Regions from separate parts of the Homo sapiens genome. Here all the other regions are linked to region 1. Evidence: promoter capture Hi-C in 16 types of primary human blood cells and fetal thymus (Javierre and others, 2016). All regions are on one chromosome and are shown on one strand. The core of a region is centred on a gene start or on the middle of the fragment in contact, and the rest is flanking DNA. Distances in the headings are between cores, read along the strand shown. Region 1 holds the start of GLB1 (galactosidase beta 1). Region 2 overlaps CNOT10 (CCR4-NOT transcription complex subunit 10). Region 3 has its middle 22 kb from the start of UBP1. Region 4 overlaps FBXL2 (F-box and leucine rich repeat protein 2). Region 5 overlaps TRIM71 (tripartite motif containing 71). Region 6 overlaps FBXL2 (F-box and leucine rich repeat protein 2).

What was found. The method cuts DNA at HindIII sites, captures the fragments that hold promoters and counts their contacts. A CHiCAGO score of 5 or more calls a contact.
Region 2: a contact is called between a fragment that was not itself captured here and the fragment with the promoter of GLB1 in region 1, in 1 of 17 cell types (erythroblasts). The highest score is 6.4, in erythroblasts.
Region 3: a fragment that was not itself captured here is called in contact with the fragment with the promoter of GLB1 in region 1 in 1 of 17 cell types (neutrophils); the score reaches 5.5 in neutrophils.
Region 4: a contact is called between a fragment that was not itself captured here and the fragment with the promoter of GLB1 in region 1, in 5 of 17 cell types (endothelial precursors, megakaryocytes, neutrophils and 2 more). The highest score is 8.0, in endothelial precursors.
Region 5: a contact is called between a fragment that was not itself captured here and the fragment with the promoter of GLB1 in region 1, in 1 of 17 cell types (M2 macrophages). The highest score is 5.0, in M2 macrophages.
Region 6: a fragment that was not itself captured here is called in contact with the fragment with the promoter of GLB1 in region 1 in 1 of 17 cell types (endothelial precursors); the score reaches 5.8 in endothelial precursors.

Annotation. Positions count from the first base shown.
Region 1 is chr3:33,095,631-33,098,533 of GRCh38, reverse strand. GLB1 (galactosidase beta 1) reads left to right here and starts at 1,388. Exons shown (of 16, transcript NM_000404.4): 1 at 1,388-1,523. The coding sequence starts at 1,449. It overlaps TMPPE (transmembrane protein with metallophosphoesterase domain), which reads left to right and starts at 1,388. Exons shown (of 2, transcript NM_001039770.3): 1 at 1,388-1,815. RefSeq lists a silencer at 1,191-1,800. The HindIII fragment of the contact is 8,101 bases long and covers 1-2,903 here.
Region 2 is chr3:32,697,710-32,700,612 of GRCh38, reverse strand. The region is part of intron 1 of CNOT10 (CCR4-NOT transcription complex subunit 10); the gene reads right to left. Among named protein-coding and RNA genes, the nearest start is that of CNOT10, 14 kb to the right of the region's middle. The HindIII fragment of the contact is 2,857 bases long and covers 1-2,820 here.
Region 3 is chr3:33,461,141-33,464,043 of GRCh38, reverse strand. No RefSeq gene overlaps it. Among named protein-coding and RNA genes, the nearest start is that of UBP1, 22 kb to the right of the region's middle. RefSeq lists an enhancer at 458-1,011. The HindIII fragment of the contact is 7,405 bases long and covers 1-2,903 here.
Region 4 is chr3:33,386,226-33,389,128 of GRCh38, reverse strand. FBXL2 (F-box and leucine rich repeat protein 2) reads right to left here. Exons shown (of 15, transcript NM_012157.5): 15 at 1,037-2,903. It overlaps UBP1 (upstream binding protein 1), which reads left to right. Exons shown (of 16, transcript NM_014517.5): 16 at 1-793. Among named protein-coding and RNA genes, the nearest start is that of UBP1, 53 kb to the left of the region's middle. The HindIII fragment of the contact is 2,345 bases long and covers 289-2,633 here.
Region 5 is chr3:32,828,561-32,831,463 of GRCh38, reverse strand. The region is part of intron 1 of TRIM71 (tripartite motif containing 71); the gene reads right to left. Among named protein-coding and RNA genes, the nearest start is that of TRIM71, 12 kb to the right of the region's middle. The HindIII fragment of the contact is 687 bases long and covers 1,044-1,730 here.
Region 6 is chr3:33,357,175-33,360,077 of GRCh38, reverse strand. It overlaps FBXL2 (F-box and leucine rich repeat protein 2), which reads right to left. Exons shown (of 15, transcript NM_012157.5): 3 at 1,057-1,111; 4 at 721-795. Among named protein-coding and RNA genes, the nearest start is that of FBXL2, 81 kb to the right of the region's middle. The HindIII fragment of the contact is 151 bases long and covers 1,348-1,498 here.

The sequences.
Region 1 (2,903 bases), core at 139-2,638:
GAATTCCAACTCAAGTGTACTTCCTCCAGAGCCCTTGTTCTTTAATACTGAACTAGAATTGCAGAGCTTGGAAAGGACTTCACAGTGCAAGGACACGGAATTGGTACTACAGGCATGAAAAGAAGCCAGGCACGGTGGCTCATGTCTGTAATTCCAGCATTTTGGGAGTTCCAGGCAGGTAGATTGCTTGATCCCAGAACTTCAAGACCTGCCTGGGAAACGTGGTGAGACCCTGTCTCTACAAAAAATACAAAAATTAGCCGGGTGTGGTGGCGCACGCCTGTAGTCCCAGCCACTTGGTAGGCTGAGACGGGAGAATTGCTTGAGCCCAGGAGGCCAAAGCTGCAGTAAGCCGTGATTGCGCCCCACTCCAGCCTGGGTGACAGAGTGAGACCCTGTCTCAAAAAACACAAAAACAAAACAAAAAAACAACCCCCCAAACCAAAAAACAAAAACCTAAGAAAAGCCAGTAACTGATACTTTCTCAATCTCTCAATGAAATGTCCTTTCTGATACTTTCTCAATCTCTCAAGGACATGTCCGGTAGGAAAGGAGAAAGGAGTGAACAAATAGAATTTTGGCTACTTTGTTATACAATGTAAAAAGGCTTTTTGGAACACCAAGGCATAAACTAAGGTTATTTTAAAAAAGAAAATTTTTTTTTGATACGGAATTTCGCTCTTATTGCCCAGGCTGGAGCGCAATGGCTCGATCTCGGTTTACTGCAACCTCCACCTCCCGGGTTCAAGCGATTCTCCTGTCTCAGCCTCCTCAGTAGCTGGGATTACAGGCGCCTGCCACCACGCCCGGCTAATTTTTGTATTTTTAGTAGAGACGGGGTTTCATCATACTGGTCAGGCTGGTCTGGAACTCCTGACCTCAGGCGATCCGCCCGCCTCGGCCTCCCAAAGTGCTGGGATTACAGGCGTGAGCAGGATTTTCATTCTAACAAGTTCCAGGTGAGTTGATACAGTGGCTCCAGGGACCGACCACATTTTGCTAACCCCCGGCTTAGAGTTATTCAAAGAGCCCGTATATGAGACGCGGATTCCATCTAGGGCGTTTAGGTTTAATGATTAACAATTTCCCTCTTCTGCTCTCTCAAGGCAGCCAGGGAACAGGGAGACCATGATTCATGTCCAATCCCCGAGGCGCGTTATCAAGCTGCTGAAAGCAGGCCCTCCGGACTGCAGTTCCAAAGGGTCCCTTCCCAGGGAAGACGCCTGCAAAACCCAGATAGTACTATCCTGGAGTCACGCGGCGGCGCGCAGCCTCCTAGCCGCCCCCACCCGCCCGGCTCGGCCACAGCGGGGCGGGGCGCGGGGCTGAGCAGGCGCGAGGGCTGGCTGCTGGGCCGACGAGGGGCGGTGCCAGGCCGTGGGTCCTTAGTCAAGTGACGCGAAGCGGCCGGCCTGGGCGCCGACTGCAGAGCCGGGAGGCTGGTGGTCATGCCGGGGTTCCTGGTTCGCATCCTCCCTCTGTTGCTGGTTCTGCTGCTTCTGGGCCCTACGCGCGGCTTGCGCGTAAGTCTGCGGGACCCGGGTACGGGGAGGCATTGCTAGGGGACAGGCTGGCGGGGAACCGGGCTGGGGTCGCAGCCACCCGCGGTCCCGCAGGGCGGGGAGCCTGAGCCCCGAAGTGCCCCCCAGCAGGCTCGCGGCCGGCGGAACGCAGGCAGTGGACCGGCCTTCCCGTCGGGGGCGGGCCGGGCGGGGCGCGCGTCCTTCCAGGCAGCTCGGTCGCTTGTGCGTTCCGCTCCGGCCGCCCTTTGCGCTTGGATCCACTTCCCCATCTGTAACGAGGTGTTGAGACGAGGTGCGTGTAAACATTTCCTAAGTTGGCTTTCCGGGAGGGGATTCCAAGTTGCGCGGGTTAGAGGGTGCCTCCGGCTCTGGTTTGGGGCGCCCTCGCTTTCCCAGTTGGTGCTCTGCGGAGCGCTCCGGAAGGAGAAAAATGGGGTCAGGAGAGGCCCTTGCAGTGGGAACATTGGGTTATTTCCCCTCTGGGTGCTCTCCCTCTTCGTGCATCTTGTTCCTTTCTCACCACTCCCCGTCGCCTGCCCTTTGGCTTGGGTTTTTCTTTGTATTTGTGGGACCGTTTTCCTTCGGCGTTTGGGGGTCCAGGTTGAGGGGGGGAATAGGCAGGCTGCCGGGGGATGCCATCGTTGATCGGGGCAGGGCTGGCGAGGCGAATAGGTGAGGTGCGGGGCGTGCACAGTTGGTGGGAGAGGAAGGACAGCTTCACTCGCTGCGTCCGAGCTGAGGCGACTGGCTGAGGGGCTCCAAAGCGCTGCCTGGGGAGGTTTGCATCACACCTGCGGAAAGGAGAGTGGGTAGTTGCAAGCTGCTCCTCTGCACGTTCCGCGGACCAACTTTGGTTCCTCCAGGGTGTAGGTGGGCTGAGCCTGCAGTATGCTTTAAGTAAGAGCTGGTAGCATTTGACACCGTTGACTTGTAAGTTACACCCTTTAATAACGCTTTCAATAACGTGCCTAGGGCAGAGAAAAGTGGTACATTTATCTACAACCAAGATTGAACATCTTAAGTATTTGGAAAACAGCTGCTGAAAATGTTTTCATTTTGGGAAAAAGTCAGCACAGATTATTTGCTGCTCCCTCTTCACCCCGTCTGTGGTTCCCCTACCCCAGTATGTAGACAGAGTTTTCTTGTCCAGAAGGCCCGTAGGACCTTAGGAGTCAGAGCTAGCCAGCTGTGAGAACCACTGGGGAAGGTGGAACTGGGGCACAGTTCAGGAGAACAGTGGCAGGGTAAGGGGCTAGGGGAAAGGCAGATCTTAACCAGTATCTGGGAGTGGGGGTAGGGAGAGAGAGAAGGATTTATGAACCAGGAACAGGTGGACAGGGTCAATCTGTCTGATGTGAGCTCATCAGTCTTGTGCAGCGT
Region 2 (2,903 bases), core at 143-2,642, 400 kb after region 1:
TTCAAGTTATTGTAAGGCTTTAGTAAGAATATATGTGAAGCAATTGGCATGTACCTGGCAGAGTAAACCCCTGATATGTAGCACAATAGTGCAGATTCTATCATTTTCAACATACAGACGGGAGGCAGGTTGCACAGTGACGTACAGACAATTTTTAGAATTGAAATAAGACTAAAACTTTAATGTCACTTCTGAAATTAAACAGATGCTACAAAGTGGAACTGGGGCAAGTTTCAGCTTCCCTATTTACTAAAATGAGAGTCTGTATTAAATAGTTTTTAGCATCCCTTCCAACTCAGATTCAGTAACTCCAAACATGCTTCTATAAAGAAACTGAGGCCGGGCGCAGTGGCTCACGCCTGTAATCCCAGCACTTTGGGAGGCCGAGGCAGGCGGATCACCTGAGGTCAGGAGTTCAAGACCAGCCTGGACAACATGGTAAAACCCCATCTCTACTAAAAACACAAAAATTAGCCGGGCATGGTGGTGCATGCCTGCAGTCTCAGCTACTTGGGAGGCTGGAGCAGAAGAATCACTTGAACCTGGGAGGCAGAGGTTGCAGTGAGCCGAGATCATGCCACTGCACTCCAGCCTGGGTGACAGAGCAAGACTTCATCTCAAAAAAAAAAAAAAAAAAGAAACTGATATGTTTGTTCCTAAAGCAGCACTCATATCCAATTAAGGTTTCTATGGAAGACAAATACCCACATGAGAAATAGTAGACCACCTTGTCCCCAAGTTTACCCCTCAAGAGTGCCTACAACCAACTTTCCAGAAAGTTGTCAAGAATCACACTGGTTATGGGGTTCTTTTGCTTACTGGCTCCTTTCCATTCTTCCCTCTCCTTCTATAGATCTGCCAACATGGACTCAAGTTGGGGCTAGAGCTAGTGGAATGCTCCCCCAGTATGGTGCCCTAGAGTTGCATCTGTCATAGTAGCCTCCACTTTCGCACCTCATCCATCACAAGCCCCCTTCCAGGATACTGGGAAGTGTGACTCCCTCTATAATGGCTTCCAGGAGTTGCCTAGATAAACAAACTCCCTTATCTTCAAGAACCCTGCCACAGTCCTTCACAGTGTTCCTCAAACACCAGAAACTTGCTGAAAGAAGAGTAAATATGAATGGCTTAATAACGTGAAATGAAATTCAGCCTCATTATTTATTAAATAATTGTAAATTAAAACGATAATACTAAATGTCTAGAAATAAATATTCTTCAAGAGATTTGATAACTAAATCATGGTATAGGAATACAATGGCACATTAACAGTTATTAAGTCTATATAACTTGATGTGGAAAAATATTTACAACATGTTGTTAAATAAAAGAAACAGATTGCAAACTGCTTTGTACAACTGAATCCCATGTTTTATAAAAATATATACACAAATATGTACCTCTGAATAAGTATAAAGTCTACAAGGATACACAGCAAACTATTCACCAAACTGTATGTGCACTTATGATCTGGGCACTTTTTGATAACTGCCTAGACAACAGGAGCATCTCAAAGAACCAGTTGTTGGCCAGGTGTGGTGGCTCACACCTGTAGTTCCAGCATTTTGGGAGGCCAACGCGGGTGGATCACTTGAGCCCAGGAGTTCAAGACCAGTCTGGGCAGCATGGTGAAACCCCGTCTCTACAAAAAATACAAAAATTAGCTGGGCATGGTGGCATGCATCTGTAGTCCCAGCTACAAGCGAGGCGAAGGTGGGAGGATTGCTTGAACACAGGAGGTGGAGTGTGCAGTGAGCTGAGATTGTGCCAAAGCACTCCAGCCTGGGCAGCAGAGTAAGACCCCATCTTAATAAACTAAAAATAAAAGAACCAGTTGTCAACAGAACTAACTTTGGGAAGTCCTAGCCTGGCACATGTCAGCAGTCAGTGAAGATTCCCAACTTCCCTTTTCCAAGAAGGCAATATGACATAATTAAAAGAGCACAAGTCTTAGAATCAGTCACATCTTCAGTCCAGTCGTCCTTTGGCCTGTTTTTAATTAGAGATGCTAAATAAATATAGCTCCCTTCCCCACTTTCCTTTCACCAGAACTAAAAATTCTTGTACTTATATTTTTAAAAATATATTTATGTCTGTAATTTAAACATAAAAATTAACAGTAAAATTCAATTTCATGTGACTTGACTATGAAACAGCTCTTTAGATCACTACGAAACCCCCAGAAGACTGAACACCCTTTTGAGAGTCACCACTTATAACAACGTAATACTGTATAACTTGTACTTAAAAAAACTCATCTAAGAACTTATCTGCTGTATAAAAAAGGCATTCCAGTATTTGGGCTTATTAAAAAGTGTTACTTGTGATAATTAAAGTTAGCAGGTCAAGTAGTTATTTTATTTCCACTTTAGCATACGACAGGGAGGAGGAAAAGCTAAGAGTTAAGTGAATAAAGTTTGCCAGTTTCAAAGGACAATGTTAAACAGTTTTTTCTTTGGAAAGCCAATAACAATGAGTTTCACTGCAAGAACATACTGTTTATCCAATACATGTGTTTTGCAGAACTGTCAGGTGCACAAAAGAGGTAAGGACCAATTATTTTAAAACGTGTAAAAATGTGACACAGGACTTTAGGACCTCAGAAGGCAAGTTATAAGTTTAGATTGAAACAGGATCCTCAATCCACATATTGTCACCATAAAACTTTAACAAAGAATATAAATATCTTTCATGTTTCTTTTATTATTAAAGATTTTATAAAACCTAACATTTTAAAAAATGTGTCTTCTCTCATAAAGAAGCATAATTTAAACCAAATGCCAAAAATTCTTAGTTTGCTATTGAGTTTTCTCTAAAGCTTCTTCTAAAATATGCCCCTTGGCTGGGCAGTGGCTCACACCTGTAATCCCAGCAGTTTGGCAGGCCAAGGAAGGAGGACTGCT
Region 3 (2,903 bases), core at 291-2,790, 370 kb before region 1:
TGGTGAAACCCTGTTTTCACTAAAAGTACAAAAAATTAGCCAGACGTGTGATGCACGCTTGTAATCCCAGCTACTCGGGAGGCTGAGGCAAGAGAATCATGTCAGGCCTCTGAGCCCAAGCTAAGCCATCATATCCCCAGTCACCGCACATATACATCCAGATGGCCTGAAGCAACTGAAGATCCACAGAAGTGAAAATAGCCTTAACTGATGACATTCTACCATTGTGATTTGTTTCTGCCCCACCCTAACTGATCAATGAACTTTGTAATCTCCCCCACCCTTAAGAAGGTTCTTTATAATCTCCCCCATCCTTAAGAAGTTTCTTTATAATTCTCCCCACCCTTGAGAATGTACTTTGTGAGATCCACCCCCTGCCCCCAAAACATTGCTCTTAACTCCACCGCCTATCCCAAAACCTATAAGAACCAATGATAATCCCACCACCCTTTGCTGACTCCTTTTTCAGACTCAGCTCGCCTGCACCCAGGTGAAATAAACAGCCATGTTGCTCACACAAAGCCTGTTTGGTGGTCTCTTCACACGGACACATGAGACAAATCACTTGAACCCAGGAAGCGGAGGTTTCAATGAGCCAAGATTGCACCATCGCACCATTGCACTCCAGCTTGGGCAACAAGAGTGAAACTCTTCTCGAAAAACAAACAAACAAACAAAAGGTTCTTTTGAAGTCTTATAGTGGCTGCTGGTTAGAGATAATAGATGACAAATTATTTCCTATTTAGATCTTTAAAAGGTGCTAGACTTTTAGTTAATTTCTTTAGGATTGGGAGGGCCTGGAATAAAAGATCTAGCTATGTTAATAGAGATTCTTTACAGATGCAAAATTTCCCCCACAAAGCACAGCTTTGCAGGGCCATTTCACGATATAGCAAAGAAACATGTTTTGGGTAAAATATTTTGATTTTCTTCCTTGTCTCATAATGTTATGCCAGAGTCAGGTTGGAAAGCAAGTAACAATATATACAGTCAAATAAAACCCATCTGATGAGAATTTATTATTTGTAGGGCATGACTCCCCAGACTCATTAGATAGGAATTTGGGCAAGATAAAAAAAATCAGAGTTTAGTCCTCAAAAGGATTTTCTTAAAAAGTGCTTAGCTTAATTAAAAGTGGATATCCAAGCTATAGGTACATTTAAAAGGGCTTTATGTTTTTCTCTTTCTGGATCTTGTTTTTCTAGAAAAAGTTTTTTTTTCTTCTCAGTCGATTGAATTCTTTTTCTCCATTTTGTCTTGGCACTCTTAATGCATGCATGAGAGGCCCTAAGTTATAATTTCAGATGGCCTGGGACTTCTTGGGAAAAACAGAAAAGGCGCCACTGATTCCATTTTGGGTGAAACCTCTGTTTTCCTCATGGAACTCCAGGAATTAGAAGTTGATAGGTCCCTCTCAAAATCTATTTTTTGTCTTCCAGCTATACCTGATTATTAAGCCTTAGAAACTGCATGGTTTCCTAGACTATCTCTTAAAAGGCTCCACCCTGAGGCCAATAATCCAATTAGGAGAATGGCAAATAAAAAATCTTACAATTACTGGATCTTTTACTGTCTGTTTGTGTAGTTATGTATGTGTTATATGTGTGTGAAGTTTACATAAAAGAGCCCTAGGCTGGGCCCAGTGGCTCATGCCTGTAATCCCAGTACTTTGGAAAGCTGAGGTGAGTGGAACACCTGAGATCAGGAGTTTGAGACCAGCCTGGCCAACATGGTGAAACCCCATCTCTACTAAAAATACAAAACGTAGCTGGGTGTGGTGGTGGGCACCTGTAATCCTAGCTACTCAGGAGGCTGAGGCTGGAGAATCACTTGAACCCAGGAGGTGGAGGTTGCAGTTAGCCAAGATCACGCTATTGCACTCCAGCCTGGGCAACAAGAGCAAGACTCTGTCTCAAAAAAGAAGAAGGAAAAAAAAAAGAACTAGTTAATTGGCCTAAAGAAAAATAAGCACTTATGGTCAGGCATGGTGGCTCATGCCTGTAATCCCAGGACTTTGGGAGGCTGAGGTGGGCGGTTCATGAGGCCAGGAGATCAAGACCATCCTGGCTAACATGGTGAAACCCCATCTCTACTAAAAATACAAAAAAATTAGCTGGGTGTGGTGGCAGGTGCCTGTAGTCCCAGCTACTTGGGAGGCTGAGGCAGGAGAATGGCATGAACCCAGGAGGTGGAGCTTGCAGTGAGCCGAGATCACACCACTGCACTCCAGCCAGGGCAACACAGCGAGACTCCATCTCAAAAAAAAAAAAAAAAGAAAAGAAAAAGAAAAAAGAAAAATAAGCTGGGCGCGGTGGCTCACGCCTGTAATCCCAGCACTTTGGGAGGCCGAGGCGGGCGGATCACGAGGTCAGGAGATTAAGACCATCCTGGCTAACACGGTGAAACCCCATCTCTACTAAAAAAATACAAAAAATTAGCCAGGCGGGGTGGCGGGCGCCTGTAGTCCCAGCTACTCAGGAGGCTGAGGCAGGAGAATGGTGTGAACCTGGGAGGCGGAGCTTGCAGTGAGCCGAGATCATGCCACTGCCCTCCAGCCTGGGCAACAGAGCAAGACTCTGTCTCAAAAAAAAAAAGAAAAGAAAAGAAAAGAAAAATAAGCACTTAAATAAAATTTTTTTTGAAGGAGAAGTAAAAGCTGTGAAGGTTTTTACTTCACATGACTTTAATCTTTGAGAAATAAAAACAGTCTTAAAGATTACTGGTAAAATGCAACTGTCATCAAAATGTAAATAGGTGATCTAAATTCTGCAGATCAGATACTAGGTTTGCTATATGTTTTAAGGTTATAAACTGCTTCTTTGGCTTTCGAGAACTGTTTGATTTGCCTGCTTTACAATTGCTAAGGCCTAGGTACATATGGAATTAATCACGCCCTTAACTAT
Region 4 (2,903 bases), core at 212-2,711, 290 kb before region 1:
CAAAGGGAATCCACTGTTTTCTCACTTTCCTCCCATATCTCCGTCCTTCATCCAAAACCTTCCCAGAATCCATCAGCAAGCATGTTTGAGGCCTGTGGTGTAGGGGACTGAATTTTTTTTTTAACTTCTATTCCATTTTAATTGTAGGATATCTTTGTCCATATACCCAGGTGTCCTGATTTGAATGTACTATTTGATCCTCATTGTGTTCAGGCAAAAAATAGGAAATGAGTAATTTTGAGTTTGAAATCTCTCCCAGAAGACAAACTACTTCAGTGAGTAAAAGCTTTGACATTTTATGTTTTATTCATAAAGGGGGTTAATTATTTGCTACAAAGAAGCACGATCTATTTTCATCATCGATTTGAAAATATCTGTAACTCCTATAGATCCTATAGGCAGAGAGTTTTCCTTTCTGACTTTTTCCCTTTGCTTTCGTGTGACCACATGTTTTCTGTACCAGTCACTGGGGAAAGAAGTGAGTTTATCTCGTTTGTTTTAAAAGTTTTGCTTGTCTATTTAGCATTCCTTTTTGGGTCTCAAGATTTATGGAACAATAAATGTCATTTAATGCTGTGTGCTTATTTTGAATTCCTCATCAGGTTTTAGAAGCGGGGTAAAAATACTTAGATGCTTATCAGACTTGAAATTATACTGAGTGGCATTGAACGTGAGTTTGTCCCAGTGAAACAGGCTAAATAAATTTTGGCACCAGCAAATTTGTTACTTTGTTTTTTTAATAGTAGGATGTACACATTTCAGTATAATAAATGTTTTCTGATTGTTTTGCAAATGTGTGTCTCATTTAAAATCCCAGTTCCTGCTACTGTCACTTCGTGTCATAGAATCAAGGAGTTTCCCTGTGTGTATTCTGAGCCAGTCTAAATGTAGTAAGAGGTTAGGCTCATAGTTTTTTCCTTTTCAGTTTATTTTCTGAAAGCTGATGCAACTGAGGATATGTTGTTATTCCATTAACTAACTAACTAACTAACTAACTAACTAAACTATTCCAGACTTTAAAAGGAAGCAAACCTGATTTTCTTTTTTTTTTTTTTTTTTGAGACGGAGTCTGGCTCTGTCACCCAGGCTGGAGTGCAGTGGCGCAATCTCGGCTCACTGCAAGCTCTGCCTCCCGGGTTCACGCCATTCTTCTGCCTCAGTCTCCTGAGTAGCTGGGACTACAGGCACCCGCCACTATGCCCGGCTAATTTTTTTTGTATTTTTAGTAGAGACGGGGTTTCACTGTGTTAGCCAGGATGGTCTTGATCTCCTGATCTCACGATCCGCCCGCCTCTGCCTCCCAAAGTGCTGGGATTACAGGCGTGAGCCACCGTGCCCAGCCTGCAAACCTGATTTTCTTACAAGAGGTTCTCCTGTTTTGTAAATGAGGCCATGGATCATTGAGCATCAAGTCCAATAGCTGTGACTGATGATAGGTTGTATCCTGGCTCAAAAGAAATCAATCATGTATAGAAGGCTCTGGTGGTTTGTTTTGTTTGTTTGTTTGTTTTGTTTTGAGATGATGATGGAGTCTCACTGTTGTCTCCTGGGCTGGATGGAGTGCAATGGCACAATCTCGGCTCACTGCCACCTCCGCCTCCTGGGTTCCAGCATTTCTCCTGCTTCAGCCTCCCGAGTAGCTGAGATTACAGGTGCCCAGCACCACGCCCGGCTAATTTTTGTATTTTCAGTAGAGATGGGGTTTTACTGTGTTGGCCAGGCTGGTCTCAAACTCCTGACCTCAGGTGATCCACCCGCCTTGGCCTCCCCAAGTGCTGGGATTATAGGCATGAACCACCGTGGCCAGCCTTAAGTTAATTTTTTTTAATAGAAACTAAACTAATTCATAATCACTGAAGCAAGTCTGTTATATGCTCATTTATTGAAGTTGCTTCCTGCATCAGTCCTCCTCCCCCATCATCTCTTCCACAACAAACAGTGGGTATAAATGTATATTTAACTAACTGCTATGGTATCCACACAATTTTTAGACCAAGGAATACTGGAATATATCATAAGGCAATAAAATGACTTTAATGCTTACTCTGATGATAATTGTGCTAAGTCCGTTTATGGGGAGATTATATATATATATAATCTGCTTCTCTTCCTAGAATGCAGCTGACATAATATATCCTTAAAAACACTTCTAAAACTGCCTAATAAAGGTATTGGTAGTCATGGGAACACATCTTGCTTTTGCCGTTTCACTTTTAAGTTTCTCATGAGCTCTGGCCCTTCAGTTTGGGGGAGTGGTTGTTTGGAAGGGCCAGCCACCATGAACACCTAAGTTTACAATGAAGGTGGTGATGACTGATTGACAGGTTCTTAATAAAGATCATAAATATGGACAGCATGGAGCAAGAATGAACCACAGCAGAGAGTAGGGTCATTTTATCAGATTTCAGATAACATCAGGAAGGTCTGCATTTGGAAAATGGTTTTGCTTGGATGTGTCTGCCATAAAATCATAGCAATAAAACCCTCTGACTTAATTTTTTTTAAAGCATTGCAATGGTTTATTCAATTTTATGAGTCTAAAAGGTACCAACACTTACTGATCTGAGTTTTAAGTGTGTAAAACTTTTGAGTAGCTATGGTGTAACCTGATTTTTAAGATTTCAAAATAAGCTTGAAAAAAAATCACATCCATTTTACATGCATCCATTCATTACTTCTAATTGATTATACTACAGATAACTTAAGCCTTAGTTCTTTCTCTTTAAGGTTCCCCCCAGTTTTACGAGAGGCATGGACATAATTAGCTTTTTTCCTTTAGTAAAAATGTGTTATGTGCTGTAGCATACACCAGAGCTTCTACTTTCCAATCAGGCAACACAGACTCCGAGCTGCTTTTGTTTTTGGTCCCTGGAGGTGTATATGACAAGTTGACAGAAACAAAA
Region 5 (2,903 bases), core at 138-2,637, 270 kb after region 1:
AGCCAAATTTTTTCATGATTATTTACAGTTATGGGCACATACATTACAATATAAATTTTTCTAGCTCTTTCAAAGAACCTTCATGTGAAAGAGCTCCCCACAAATAGGTCTGGAAGATGTAGCCACCTCTATCACTCCCATCTTAACGGTCAGAAATCAAGTCAGTTAAGTGACTTGTCCAAGGTCACATAGGGCAACACTAGGACTTAAATCCAGTTGTTACTCTGTAGCTCATGGTCTTACCTATACCAAGAAGCTGAGAGCATTTTTCAAGCCACTCTTCCCCTTTCATCTCCAAAATCCCCCACGGTCCCCCACCCCCATCTATATAACGTGGGGAAAAATCCATCAAAACTCAACACTTGCAGGCAGGCACAGTGGCTCACGCCTGTAATCCCAACACTTTGGGAGGCCGAGGTAGGCGGATTACCTGAGACCAGCCTGGCCAACATGGTGAAACCTAGTCTCTGCTAAAAAATATCACAATTAGCTAGGCGTGGTGGCGGGCGCCTGTAATCCCAGCTACTGGGGAGGCTGAGGCACGAGAATCGCTTGAACCCAGGAGGTAGAGGTTGCAGTGAGCCTAGATTGCACCACTGCACTCCAGTTCCAGCAAAAAAACAAACAAACATCAAAACAAATAAAAAAAACCCTCAACATTTGGGGCAGGGGGAGGCATTCTATGGCTTGAAAACTAAGAAGTGTCCTTTGTTTCTGCAAAGGAATGAAGGCAGACTTTGGGCATCTTCTGAGGGTCAAACCCAACTTGCATAACTCATTGGAAGTTGACAATCAGGCAAAAGCTGGAATTGGTCCTTAAATCCACTGATATCGACAGAGGCCAGACTTAGTGTAAAAATCCCCAATCCATCAATGCCAAATTGCTCTGAGGTGTTGGGGCCAGGGTGAGAGGGTATGGGGACAGGAGCAGGAGATGAGCTCCATTCCCGGCAATCTGGAATAGAATATGCCCAGAGGATGCACCTCACCCTGATACTGTGAGATGGAGTTATCATTTCAAGAGATTAACAAAACTCAAAGCTTTCTCCCTTGCTAAATTATCGTTCTGGTAATACTTACTATTAAATGAATTTTGGAATGACAGGCGGTTTTTTGCAAGATGGTTATACTCAGTTTTTGGCTAAGAGACCAGAGCCCATTTATGCTTTTTAACGTTCTCCTTAATGACTTAGAAAAGGTCAAAGCAGGAAGATAAAATACAAAAAACAAAAACATTTAGAGGCTGGACACGGTGGCTCACACCTGTAATCCCAGCATTTTGGGAGGCCAAGACAGGCGGATCACCTGAGGTCAGGAGTTCAAGACCAGCCTGGCTAACATGGTGAAACCCCATCTCTACTAAAAATACAAAATTACCCGGGCACGGTGGCATGTACCTATAGTCCCATATACCCGGGGAGGCAGGAGAATGCTGGAACCCAGGAGGCAGAGGTTGCAGTGAGCCAAGATAATGCCAACTGTACTCCAGCCTGGGCGACAGAGCAAGACTCCATCTCGAAAAAAAAAAAAAAAAAAAAAAATTCAGGCAGTAAATTTAGTATTAAGCAGATTTTTAAGGGTTAATTTCAAAAAGCTACACTTGTCAATAACACATGTTACTGTCACATAAATAGCAATGTGGAAAGAGTGCTAGACTAGGAGTCAGGACAGTTTCTGATGAAGTCATTTCATAACCAGGCCTCAGCATTCCCATTTGTAATGGAGAAGCTTCTTCTATGAAGACTTAAGGCCTTTCTTGTGATTTGATTCCTCTTCAGATGCCTCCTCCAATGCACACACACGCACACACAAACACACACACACACACACACACACAATACCATGACATTAATGCTTACTAAATATTCTAGTTGCTGAGATTAGACTGTTCCATTGAGCAAGTTGATCTGCTTCCTTGATATGCCACAGTTTCCCTTCCTCTCCCCAGCCCCCACACAATATCTTGGCTTTAAAGATTAGTGGTGACAGCAGGGCATCGTGGCTCACGCCTGTAATCCCAGCACTTTGGGAGACAGGCAGATCACCTGAGGTTGGAGTTTGAGACCAGCCTGACCAACACAGAGAAACCCCCTCTCTACTGAAAATACAAAATTAGTTGGGTGTGGTGGCTCATGCCTGTAATCCCAGCTACTCGGGAGGCTGAGGCAGGAGAATCACTTGAACCTGAGAGGTGGAGGTTGCAGTGAGCCAAGATCGTGCCATTCCACTCCAGCCTGGGCAACAAGAGCAAAACTCCATCTCAAAAAAAAAAAAAAAAGAAAAGAAAAAAGAAAAAAAGAAAATTATCCAGGCATGGCGGTGCACTCCTGTACTCCCAGCTACTCAGGAGGCTGAGGCAGAAGAATTGCTTGAACCTGGGAAGCGGAGGTTGCAGTGAGCCGAGATCACATCACTGCACTCCAGCCTGGGCGACAGAGGGAAAGTCCGTGTCAAAAAAAAAAAAAATTAGTGCTTTCTAGTGGGGGACAGTGGCTCATGCCTGTAACCCCAGTACTCTAGGAGACTGACATAGGAGGATTGCTATCACTTGAGGCCAAGAGTTCAAGATCAGTGAACTGGGCAACAAAGTGAGAACCCTGTCTCTACAAAAAAATTATAAGAAAAATTAGTGGTTTTCAAACATGTCATATAAAATGTAAATTGGGGCCAGATGAGGTGGCTCACGCCTGTAATCCCAGCACTTTGGGAGGACAGGCAGGAGGGTGGCTTGAGCCCAAGGGTCAGACACAAGCCTGGGCAACATGGTGCAACCCAGTCTCTACAAAAAGAATTTTTTTTAATTAGCCGGGCATCGTGGCATGCACCTTCTCAGAAGGCAGAGGTGGGAGGATCACTTGAGCCGGGAAGGTTGAGACAGCAGTAAGCTGTGATTGCACCACTGC
Region 6 (2,903 bases), core at 174-2,673, 260 kb before region 1:
CTCAAGACCCTCAAACCAGCACTTCAGACAATTCCTAAGTACAATGCTCTTTTTTTATTCCCTGCCTAAACTTTCTTTTTGGTTAGAAATTTAGTATTGAATATCAAAGTTGTTTTAACATAAACTTTCCTCATTTCATCAGGTTTACCACACTTAAATGGAGATATTTACATATTTACAGATAAATATATCAGAATCTTATATATTCTGTATATAATAATTGTATAAGACTTAATTATTACTTTATTTTATAGATAATAAAACAGAATACTGAGAGATTATATGACTTAAGTGGCCAAGCTAGGGTGACACTTTAGATCTCCAGCCTCACTCTTGGGCTTCTGCTTCTGCCATTTCTCCACTTTTGATGCTGAATTAGAATTCTCGGTGGATTTTCTAGATCAATAAGTATTTGTCAAGTCTCCTAAGGTTAAAGCACTGAACCAGGTGATAATGATGCAGGTGTGTGGCTTTAAAAAGCTGAGTAGTAAAATTCAGACTATAAACATAAACAAGGGAAAAAAATCTGTTACTGATACAATTTAAAATGCAAGCAGGGTTTTGTTTTGATGTATGCAAATCCCTTCCAGTTTTTCTTCTTTCTGTTCTACCTCAGCACTTTAATATTAGATCTAAATGCAGTAAAATAAAAAGTCAGGAAAGGGGGAACAGCTACTCATATTTTTAAAAAGTTTTTTGTCTAAACCAAAGCTAACTTACCTCTACATCTGTTTGAAAGTTAAAAAGATCTATTCTTTGCCAGTTGCTTCCATCCAGGGCTAAGATGTTCCAAGCCTGGAAGGTGGGAGGTAAAGGAAGAGGGATTGGGATGAAAGAAACACATTTATTGAGACTATTAAAGAAAGTCTTGATTAACCTTTATTTCCAAACTCCTATTTTTGATGTATATTAAGTTAATCATCAAATGCAAAATTATACCATTATGTTATATTAAGTATAAAAGATAATAAAATTTTAATTTTCAGTAATTTGAACTAAAACTCATTCTAATAAAACTTGATATTTATTGATTAAAAAATCTGGTGAATACTCTACCTTGGAAATCTGTGCACATCGGCACAAAGTTACTATATCCAAGAAGGAAAATATTCTACAGAGAGAGGAAAAAAACACAAAAACGAGATGGTGTTAACATTTCAGGATAATTATAACTTGAAAGATAAACTCTAATCCGCCACCTGGATACATAAGTTTTTTCAAGATTCCTCAATCTGAAATATACAAGTGCACTATAACTTTACATCACTACAGTGAAATATTAAGTGTTTGCATGTTCAGAAGCTATTTTGGACACACAATACAAATTACCTTAGAACTCATTAAGCTTATATTTCCCTTGTTCTAAGTAATGGACACAGGAAAGACCATAACTGGTTCTATTTGAAGACCAACTCTCTAGCATAAGCCCTCTTTTGGTGGTAGATGCACTGAACAGGCTCAGATGCCTGAGCCTCAAATAACACTGTCAAAAAAAGCTTGATGACAAAGCCCATTTGGTTTGAAGTATTTGTTTGCCTGGCAGAAAGATGGAGCTCATTAGTTGGCAAAGTCTATAAGTGATCAGTTTTTCCTAAGCAAAAGCCAAGGAGCCAGAGAACATAGGAAAGATGGGGCGGGAAGAGGTGGGGGGAAGAAAAGCAGACAGAAGCAAACAAAATCTTGGTTGGCATCAGTAATGCCTTAGAGGAAGCAGTAGCTGCCAGCATGGCAGGGGACTGAGTGAAGCCTCGACATTCTGGCAGTCAAGGAGAGGAGCTGCTGCTCATAGTATGTGAGCAAACAGCCGTGTGCGCCTCAGCACTGCAGAGTGACAGCTAAAAACAAAGGGCAGCTTTTCTGTGAGAAGAAGGGTGGACAGGGTTGAAGTCAGGAACAAGAGTAGTGCCTCAGTTTTCAGAGTCCTGGAAAGTAAATATGAGAGTCTGTGCCTCTGAGTGTGGAAGGGGGAGAGTGGTTAAGATGGCGAACAGCCACCTATAATGTTCCTCAAAATTCTTCAAAGGCAACAATCGGTGGTGAGATAAAAATCCACGGACTCAGGGAAGAAGAGTAGAATCATAAAACATGAAAGTGTTGTACCCTACAATAATGCACCCACATGCAGTACCATGGGATACTGACTGCATAGATGCCATCCTACAATATAGGCTACAATCATTTTCTAGTGAAAAGCAAAGGATAGAAGCATAATAAGGGCTACACTGACTTTAAAAGATTCAGTGGATCTTGGCTGGGCGCGGTGGCTCACGCCTGTAATCCCAGCACTTTGGGAGGCCGAGGTGGGCGGATCACGAGGTCAGGAGATCGAGACCATCCTGGCTAACACGGTGAAACCCCATCTCTACTAAAAATACAAAAAATTAGCCGGGCGAGGTGGCGGGCACCTGTAGTCCCAGCTACTCAAAAGGCTGAGGCAGGAGAATGGCGTGAACCCGGGAGGCGGAGCCTGCAGTGAGCCGAGATAGCGCCACTGCACTCCAACCTGGGCGACAGCGAGACTCCGTCTCAAAAAAAAAAAAAAAAAAGACTCAGTGGATCTTTGTACATAGAAAAATGCTGGTGGCTAAAATATGTGTACTTAAACATACATATTCAATATATTTTAGGATATCTACACATCTACCTTGCCCAACACAAAGGCTCTCCTGCCCCTAATAGCTGTGTTCTGTGACATATGACCATCCCACAGCTAGCCACATCTGATTATCAGCTCCCTACAGAAACAAACACCAAACAGAGAAACTAGCCTGGTACAGTAGAATCATATTTCATGCAGGGATTGGGTTCTAAAAGCATAAGCCAAAGGTAAAAAAAGAGTTAGCTGTTTCCCTTGAAAATACCTTAAGAGCATACCACCTTTATCACGTCTCAGTAATAACAAT